Linked DNA regions of Homo sapiens: region 2 is linked to region 1. Evidence: promoter capture Hi-C in human tissues and cell types (Jung and others, 2019). All regions are on one chromosome and are shown on one strand. The core of a region is centred on a gene start or on the middle of the fragment in contact, and the rest is flanking DNA. Distances in the headings are between cores, read along the strand shown.

Region 1 (3,935 bases), core at 1,086-3,585:
GACTGTTGCAGAACCGCTGGATTCCTCCCCTCCTCATAACCAGTTCTTCAGTTTGAGTGTCACTGTAATGGCTAAAGCCCGTCAGTAACCGTGGGTTCTTTCAGCTCCATCTGGCACTGTGAGCTGCCTGTCATTATTATGAAATCATTCTTGCTACTTCTTTACTCTAAACCCAAATACCTCTCTGGCTCTCCTATTTCTGTCTGTTATCCCCTCACCCAGCTAGACTTCTCCCTTGAACTCCACATGTATTATCACCAAGGCATATTCGTTCTTCCTTTGAAATTACTGCCAAATTATTTTTCCTATCTGGCTTATTGCTGTGGGCCTCCAAGTGGGTTCTTGCCTCCAGGTTTTGGTCCATTTTAATCCACACTGTGCAACATAGTACATACATAAACTTCTTCAACAACATCTTCCCCCTCTATTTCAAAAGGTTTTCAAAAATTTTCCATGGCTCTTTATTGTCTACAGGAAGGAATTTGTACTTAGTTAGGATTTCAGGGGCTTCCACACAAACAGGCTCCTACCTTTCTTTCCAGGTCCATCTGCCACTTAATAGTAGTAGTAGTAAGCATTTATTGTAATTGTAGTAATGGTAATAACTGTGGTAGTAAGCATTTATTGTTGTAATAGCAGTAATTGTCATCGTAGTAAACATTTTTTGAATGCTTACTATGTGATAGACACTATACTAAATATTTTGCTGGCATTATCTTTTTTAATTCTCACATATTATTCCCATGTTTATAAGTATAGTAAGTACCATAAATTATCTCCACTTTACAGATAAGTAAACTGTGGCTTGAATAGGTTAACTAATTTCTCCCAGATCACATGGAGAAGAAGAAGCAGAGCTGGGATTCTGAGCCAGGTCTGATTGACCCAGAATTTGCACTCCTAATGACTATTCTCCTCTTACCTGCTCTCCTCTAAGAAGATTCAGCTTCAGCCAAACTTATCTCTTCTTCGGTCCCTCAGGTCTCAGTGCCTTCATCCAGTCAGTGCCGCATCTGAATTGCTTTTCTGTCCTGTTCACCTGTCTGAATTCTACCCTTCCTTCAAGGTTCAAGAGTAATTAGCTCTTCCATAATGTTGCTATGCCTTGGTATTTTTTCATGAGGATGGCTCTGTTCCTCACATGTGTTGTAATTTCAGTGCAAATCCAATATGTTAAGTATTACACAGTACGTGGTACACACAGACCCTTTCTCATAGTTGGTTCCCAAAAGAATGTGTGATTGCTTAATGGAGGACAGGGTGCTGGGATGGGCCAGACTGCCGTGAGAGCTGGGAAGAAAGAGAGAGTAGCCACTGGATAGAATGCAGTTTATAGGACCTCAAAGAGAATCCAAGAATCCTAATTCCCAGCATCACCAGATTTACAATCCTAGAAGCATCATCTTAGCATGGCCCGATTCTTTCCACAAACCCATCAGAATCTTTGCAAATGCTTCCTCCCCCTACATGCATAGAAAATAGATTTAGAGGGATTCTAGACAAGAAAGAAAATAGACATAGGGAGGGACATGGATCTGTATGGGGAAAGGGGAGGATTCTAGACCTCTTCTGTTGTTACTCAATCTTCTCTCCCATCTGTCTTTGCTCTTAGAAAATCAGCCCACACAGGACTAGGAGAGACGAGGGGAGAAGGAATAAGTGGGTTCCCAAAATGGGGTAGAATCTAGTCTGTTGTCATCCAGGGAGCATTAACAGGTATTGTTAAACACAAGATTTAAGAAAAGAGAGGATAAGATGGAGGGACAGCAATAAAGAAGGGAAGAAAATCTGGAGTGAGTGAGAGAAGCAGGCAGGAGAAGGGGGAAGATGGAGGAAGATGAGACTTAAAAAGGAACAGTAGAGGGTGGAAAGTGTCAGAGCAAGACCTGTTTGTGTTTTCTCCTAGGTGTGGGAAGAAGCTGTAGTATGTATGTGGGAGGCGGGGGAGATAACAGTGTATGTCTATATTCCGCTCTCCCTCCCACCCTCTGTTCTAAATTCCACCCAGCACATAAGCCAATACAGACAAAAGTCTTAATGTTAGATAAAATCAATGTTTCCCAAATCCCGTTCCCCTTGCATTAATGCCTGATGACTTCCCCCATGCCTTCCCTCCACCCCATGCTTGTCTCACGATAGGCTTTGTCGTGCTGATTTGTCCATGGGAAGGACAATGAGGCCATCACCTTCCTCCAGCCCACAGTGGCCAAGAGGACTTAGAGCCTCCCATCTCCCAGGTCACTCTTCTCCTGTAGCTCCATTCTTCTCCTGGCCTCTCTCAGACAAGGAACACATATGGGATTGGCCTTAAGGAAAGGGAAATTCCTTGGGGAGTAAAACTTAGGCTTAATTCATAAGATAAAGCCTGGCTCAGGCTGCTAAGGGCAAATGAGCAATGGGAGTTATTAAAAAGTATGTGAGATGTTGCATCAGATGCACATAATTATTGGGAGACTGTCTTGGGGCCAACATTTCAGAGTTACTGATCAAAGGACCAAGATGAAGAAGGATAAGAACCCTAAAGAGACGTGAATTCCCAGGGAGGTTTACAAGAACCAAATCCCTCAGCACCATGGGCAGTGCAAGGCCTCCACCCTCTCCTATCACCACTGTAGTTGGAAAAGTGAGTTATGTCCTAGGACACAGTCCAGGTCACCCCCTCTATAAACTCCAAAGCCTTTTTCATATGTACAGTCATTAAGGTACCATCTCTTATCCCAATCTCTGATCTGCTCTTCTCTCAGCCAAAGTGAACTCTCAATGTAAATTGGCTAAGTTCATCCTCAAGATATAATTCAACTACCATAAGCTTCACAATTATTAAATGATTTTAACCATTCAGTGGTTTTTAGTATATTCACAAACTTGTGTAACCATCACCACTACCTAATTCCAGAACATTTTCTTCGTTCTGAAAAGAAATCTCATATCCTTTAGCAGTCACTGCCCATTCTGTTCTCTCCTCAGTCTCTGGAAACCACTAATCTACTTTTTGTCTCTGGATTTGCCTGTTCTGGACATTTCCTAAAAATTGAATCATATAACACACATATGATGATATATGGCTTTTGTGTCCTGCTTCTTTCACTTATGTTTTTAAGTTTCATCTGTACTGTAGCATGTACCAGTACTAGTCATGTACCAGTCATTCCTTTTTATGACTGGATAATATTACATCATATGGATATACCACTTTTGTAAATCAGTCAGTCAGCTCTCGGACATTTGAGTTCTTTCCACTTTTTAGCTATTATGAATAAAGCTGCTAGGAATATTCATGTATAGGATTTTGTGTGGATGTATTCTTTCATTTTTCTTTGGTATATAGCTAGATGTGGAATTGCTGGATTTTATAGCAACTGTGCCTAATCTTTTGAGGAATAACCATCTTACTTAGAATAGTGAGAGTGAAGTGGCATCTCATAATTTTCGCATTTGTATTTATAAAGAATATGGTCTGTAGTTCTTTTCTTGTATCTTTGTCTGGCTTTGGTATCAAGATAATGCTGGCCTCATAGAATGTGTTAAAAAGTGTTCCCTTTGCTTCTGTTTTTTTTTTTTTTTTTTACAAGAACTTGCATAGTATTGGTGTTCATACTCCTTTAAATGTTTGGCAGAATTTACCACTAAAGCCATCTGGTACTGGACTTTTCTTGGTTGGGAGGTTTTTTAAACACTGATTCAACATTTACTTGTTATAGGTCTGTTGAGACTTTCTATTTCTTTTGAAATCAGTTTTGGTAATTTGTGTTTCCAGGAATTTTTCCATTTAATCTAAATTAGCCAATTTGTTGGCATATAGTGCTCATAGTACTCTCTTACAATCCTATTAATTTTTGTAAGGTTGGTAGTAATGTTTCTGATTTTATTTATTTGCCTCTTCTCTTTTTTTCTTAGTTTAGCTAAACATTTATAAATTTTGTTTATCTTTTCAA
Region 2 (3,977 bases), core at 1,005-3,504, 360 kb after region 1:
TATCACCGAAACACGAGCATAAATCCATTTTCGTCTATTTCATTCTGTTCATTTTCTTTTGAAATGCACTGTCTCCATCATCTTCAGCCAATGGTTGAAATTCTAGCATATACAAATGTTAGTGTAACTGCTGTTTCCAGCCTTGTTATAAAATGTCTCCATGTTTTCATGTACTCTTCGTAAGAGACATGTTGCCAGCTGGTTTCTCAAGGAGCTCCTCCTGATTTTTTTCACTCTTCCCCTATAAATGGGCAGATGGGATGTTTCCATTTTTGCCCCATAGCAGACATCTTTTTCTGCATTTGGAGTGATTTCCTTAGGATCGAATGCAGAAGTGGGAGTTCTGAGTCAAAGATAATGGATATTTTTATGGCTCTTGACTCATCTGGCCAATTTGCTTTTCACAGATTTTGCATAAACTTACACTCCCACGATAGTTCAGATTTGAGTCTTTAAGTTTTGAACGACATTGTTCCATGTACCACACCTTCTATAGTAAATATTTTCCTGCTCAGATACAAACTTTAAAGGTTCTGACACCAGAGACAGTATCTTCTCCTATGTAAAGCCTTCAGCCCTTTCTGAAAGATGCTGTAAAGCAGGCTTGTGGTGGAGGACATGCTTAGAGTATGTCCTCGTTCTCCCATTCTCAGCTTGGACCACTGGTGTTCATTCCTGCCTTTTCCTCCTGGGAACAGTTCCCTAATCTGAATGTCCTGTAGCAATTCAGAAACCAATTCTCCCAGCTAGACCCTGTCTGGTTCCTACTAGTCTGTGGTCATGTTGGCCACTCCCTGGTTTGGGGTCCTTCTAATGCTTCTCAAAGCCCTAGTGGAGGTGGAGCGATTAACGCTAAGGGGTTAAGAGCTCAGTCAAATTCTCTGGTCAAGGAATGCACTATTCCTAGCCCCCTTCAATATGCAACAAAGTTGTTGGCAGGTTTTGCCAACTTTAACTCCACCCAGGAGAAAAAGATCCCCTCATGCACCCCCTGCTTCTTTTGATATTAGGAGAGAAAGAAAAAGAGAGATTAACATATTTACAAGTAGCCAATCATCCCCCATCTTTTGGAAGTCAAGTATTAGAGGAAAACAGACAGACATCTGTGAGCATTTAGAGAGTGGAAAAAGAAACAAGCAGGTTTCAACTGGAGCCAGGCAGGTGGTTGGCAGCACCCACCCAAGGAATGGAGTTTCTGTCCTGATTATATTGTTTCATTCGGCTGTGGATACAGCAGAAGCGGAGTGCTGGGGGTGCCGAGGGAGGCATCTCCATGTTTAATTCAGCTTACTTTGAGAACAAGTTAAAGTCTTGCAGCAAAGAGTTCCTCCACAGCAGAAATTTGGGAATCTAAAAAATAAATCTTGGAAAGATGTTAGACTGTGCATAGACCTAGAGCAGAGGAGCCAAGAACACACGGATAGCTCCTTGAGGTGGGAAAGAAGCACGGTGGTTCAGGATGGGCGGTTGGGAAGAAATGATGACCTTAATGATGATGACCATAGCTAACATTTTTTTGAGTGCTTATTATGTCTCAGATACTATCCAAAACACTTTACACAGATTAACTGTTTATTCATCACTGCGAACTTACTTGGAAATGACTATTATTGCTTCCATTTATGAATGAGGAAACTGAGTCACAGAGAGGGTGTGTGATGAGACTGGTAGGTTGGAGCTGTGACTATACTGGGGACAATTACATGGGCTGGATCCTGAAGGTAAGGAAGAGAAAGGAGAAAGGGGTGGCAAACAATCTTTCTGGGGATGTGGATGTCTAGTTATCTGCACCCGAAAGCTGGGAGTATCCCTGGACTTGCCCCTCTCCCTCTTATCCAGTTACTTCTGTAATTTCCCTGGTCCAGTCCATCCCCAGCACCATCCCCACCACTCACAGCTGCTCTACCAGTGTCTTGCCTGGGCTATTGCAGTGACTTCCCAACTGGTGAGCCGCCTTCAGCCCCCAACCCTAATCCATCTTCTAGATTCTTTCCCCACCCAGTAATCTTGCTCTAGGCTTCCTTGGCACCTTATAAATATCTCTATTTAGTACTTAGCACACTAATGGTAATTGTGAATTTATATCAGTTTATCCAGTCCAAATATTTGTTGAATGAAAGAATGAGGTCATATTCAAGGAGAATAATTAACATTTGAAGGCTGAGGGGTAAACCTTGGACCCAAAGAGAAAGGACTTTGCATTCCCAGGGCCCAAGAGCACCAAGAAGAAGTAAATCAGAACATAGACTTAAAAAGGGTGAACTAGCATGAGAGGCTAGGGATAGAACCAAGTGGATCAAGGGGTTGCTGGAAGATGTCAGTGCTTTGCACCTATTCCCATAGAGATTAATAATACATGACATGATTTTGGTAAGTTAAAAGTACCATGAATATCAGGAGCGGGATCTTCTGCTTGGTGGCAGCTCACGGTACTCCATAATAAACAGAAGTGGGAGCCAGTTGAAACAGCTTTTACTTATTTGGAGATGTCTCACTCACCCAAAGGCATCCCCATCTAGGCAAGATGAACACAGGAAAGTGATATTGCATATGGCTGGGAAGTTGATAGACTCTGGGAGGGTGCAATTTGTGGAAAAGAGTGGATTTCTAAGCCACTGTCCTTCTGTCAATTTTTGAGTATATTCTTGGTCTTTCTTGCAGTGCACACAATTCTACAATTGATCTTTAGGTGAAATAAGTTGGGAGATTTAGATTTAGAAGCATTGACCCTCTTTCTCCCGAAGATGCTACAAGGTCAGGTGCATTTCTGCTTTTATTTAAGAGTGTGATTAAAAACAGCCAGGGCCATCCTGGACCCAGCCGGCATTTCCCTGAATGTTCATTATTTTGAATGTATCACTAGAACAATGAGTGATAGAAGTGATGACATGATATAACAGAGAGAAAATCTGGGGTGAATGATTTCACAAGTTTGTCTCTGTTCCTATGATGGAAAAAAATGAAATCTGATTGTCTAGCCCAGAAGTGGAAGATATCATGTTATCTCACAACCTTTAAAGGTTTTACATAATATTTTTGAGACCGAGAATGCTAAAGCATTATTGCTTATGTTCTAGTTATAGGCCTATCTAATGGGTTATTGGTGAAAGACAAAGCACAGAGTCATGAATATGTCTCTGAAGTCAGTGCTGAAGCTGCCCTTGGATCTTTTGCCTCCTAGCCAGGCAGTGGGGGGTTGTCAGTATGGACTAATTCATTCCTGTAGTCACACTTTTTTTTTTTTTTTTGAGGCAGAGTCTTGCTTTGTCGCCCAGACTGGAGTGCAGTGGCACAATCTCGGCTCACTGCAATCTCTGCCTCCCAGGTTCAAGCGATTATCCTGCCTCAGCCTCCCGAGTAGCTGGGATTACAGGCGCGTACCATCACACTCGGCTAATTTTTGTATTTTTAGTAGAGACTGGGTTTCACTATGTTGCCCAGGCTGGTCTTGAACTCCTGACCTCAGGTGATCCACCCACCAAGGCCTCCCAAAGTGCTGGGATTACAGGCGTGGGCCACTGTGCCTGGCCAGTCAACACATATTTATTGAGCAGCTGCTATGTGCCAGGCACTGTACTAGGAAGTGGGGATACAGCAGTGAACAAAACAAAGTTCCTGTTCTCATGGAGCTTACAATCTAGTTGGGGGAGACAAAAAATAACTATGAAACTTATACTATGTCAAGTGATGATACATGCTATGAAGAAAAAATACACACAGTAAGGGGAAAGGTTGGGGTTTCTATCTTATAGAGAGTGGTCAGGGAAGGCCTTGCTACTACAATGAGCACAGATTGAATGGAGTGAGGGAAGGAGCCCTGTGGTTGTCTGGGGTCGGAGTGTTACAGGAAAAGAGAGCAGTAAGGACAAAGACCTCAGGCGGAATCATGCTCAGCACACTCCACCAATGGCAAGGAGGCCAGTGCGGCTGGAGTGACGTGAGCACGGGGAGGGTAGGAGATAAGGTTGGAGAAGAAG

Evidence for each region. The method cuts DNA at HindIII sites, captures the fragments that hold promoters and counts their contacts. A contact is called where the count stands out against the background at its distance.
Region 2: a fragment that was not itself captured here is called in contact with the fragment with the promoter of OR4D1 in region 1 in 2 of the 25 tissues and cell types used here (lymphoblastoid cells and mesenchymal stem cells).

Annotation. Positions count from the first base shown.
Region 1 is chr17:58,146,784-58,150,718 of GRCh38, reverse strand. It overlaps OR4D1 (olfactory receptor family 4 subfamily D member 1), which reads right to left and starts at 2,335. Exons shown (of 4, transcript NM_001386095.1): 1 at 2,135-2,335; 2 at 923-1,290. The HindIII fragment of the contact is 15,992 bases long and covers 1-3,753 here.
Region 2 is chr17:57,785,249-57,789,225 of GRCh38, reverse strand. No RefSeq gene overlaps it. Among named protein-coding and RNA genes, the nearest start is that of CCDC182, 42 kb to the right of the region's middle. The HindIII fragment of the contact is 7,195 bases long and covers 1-3,977 here.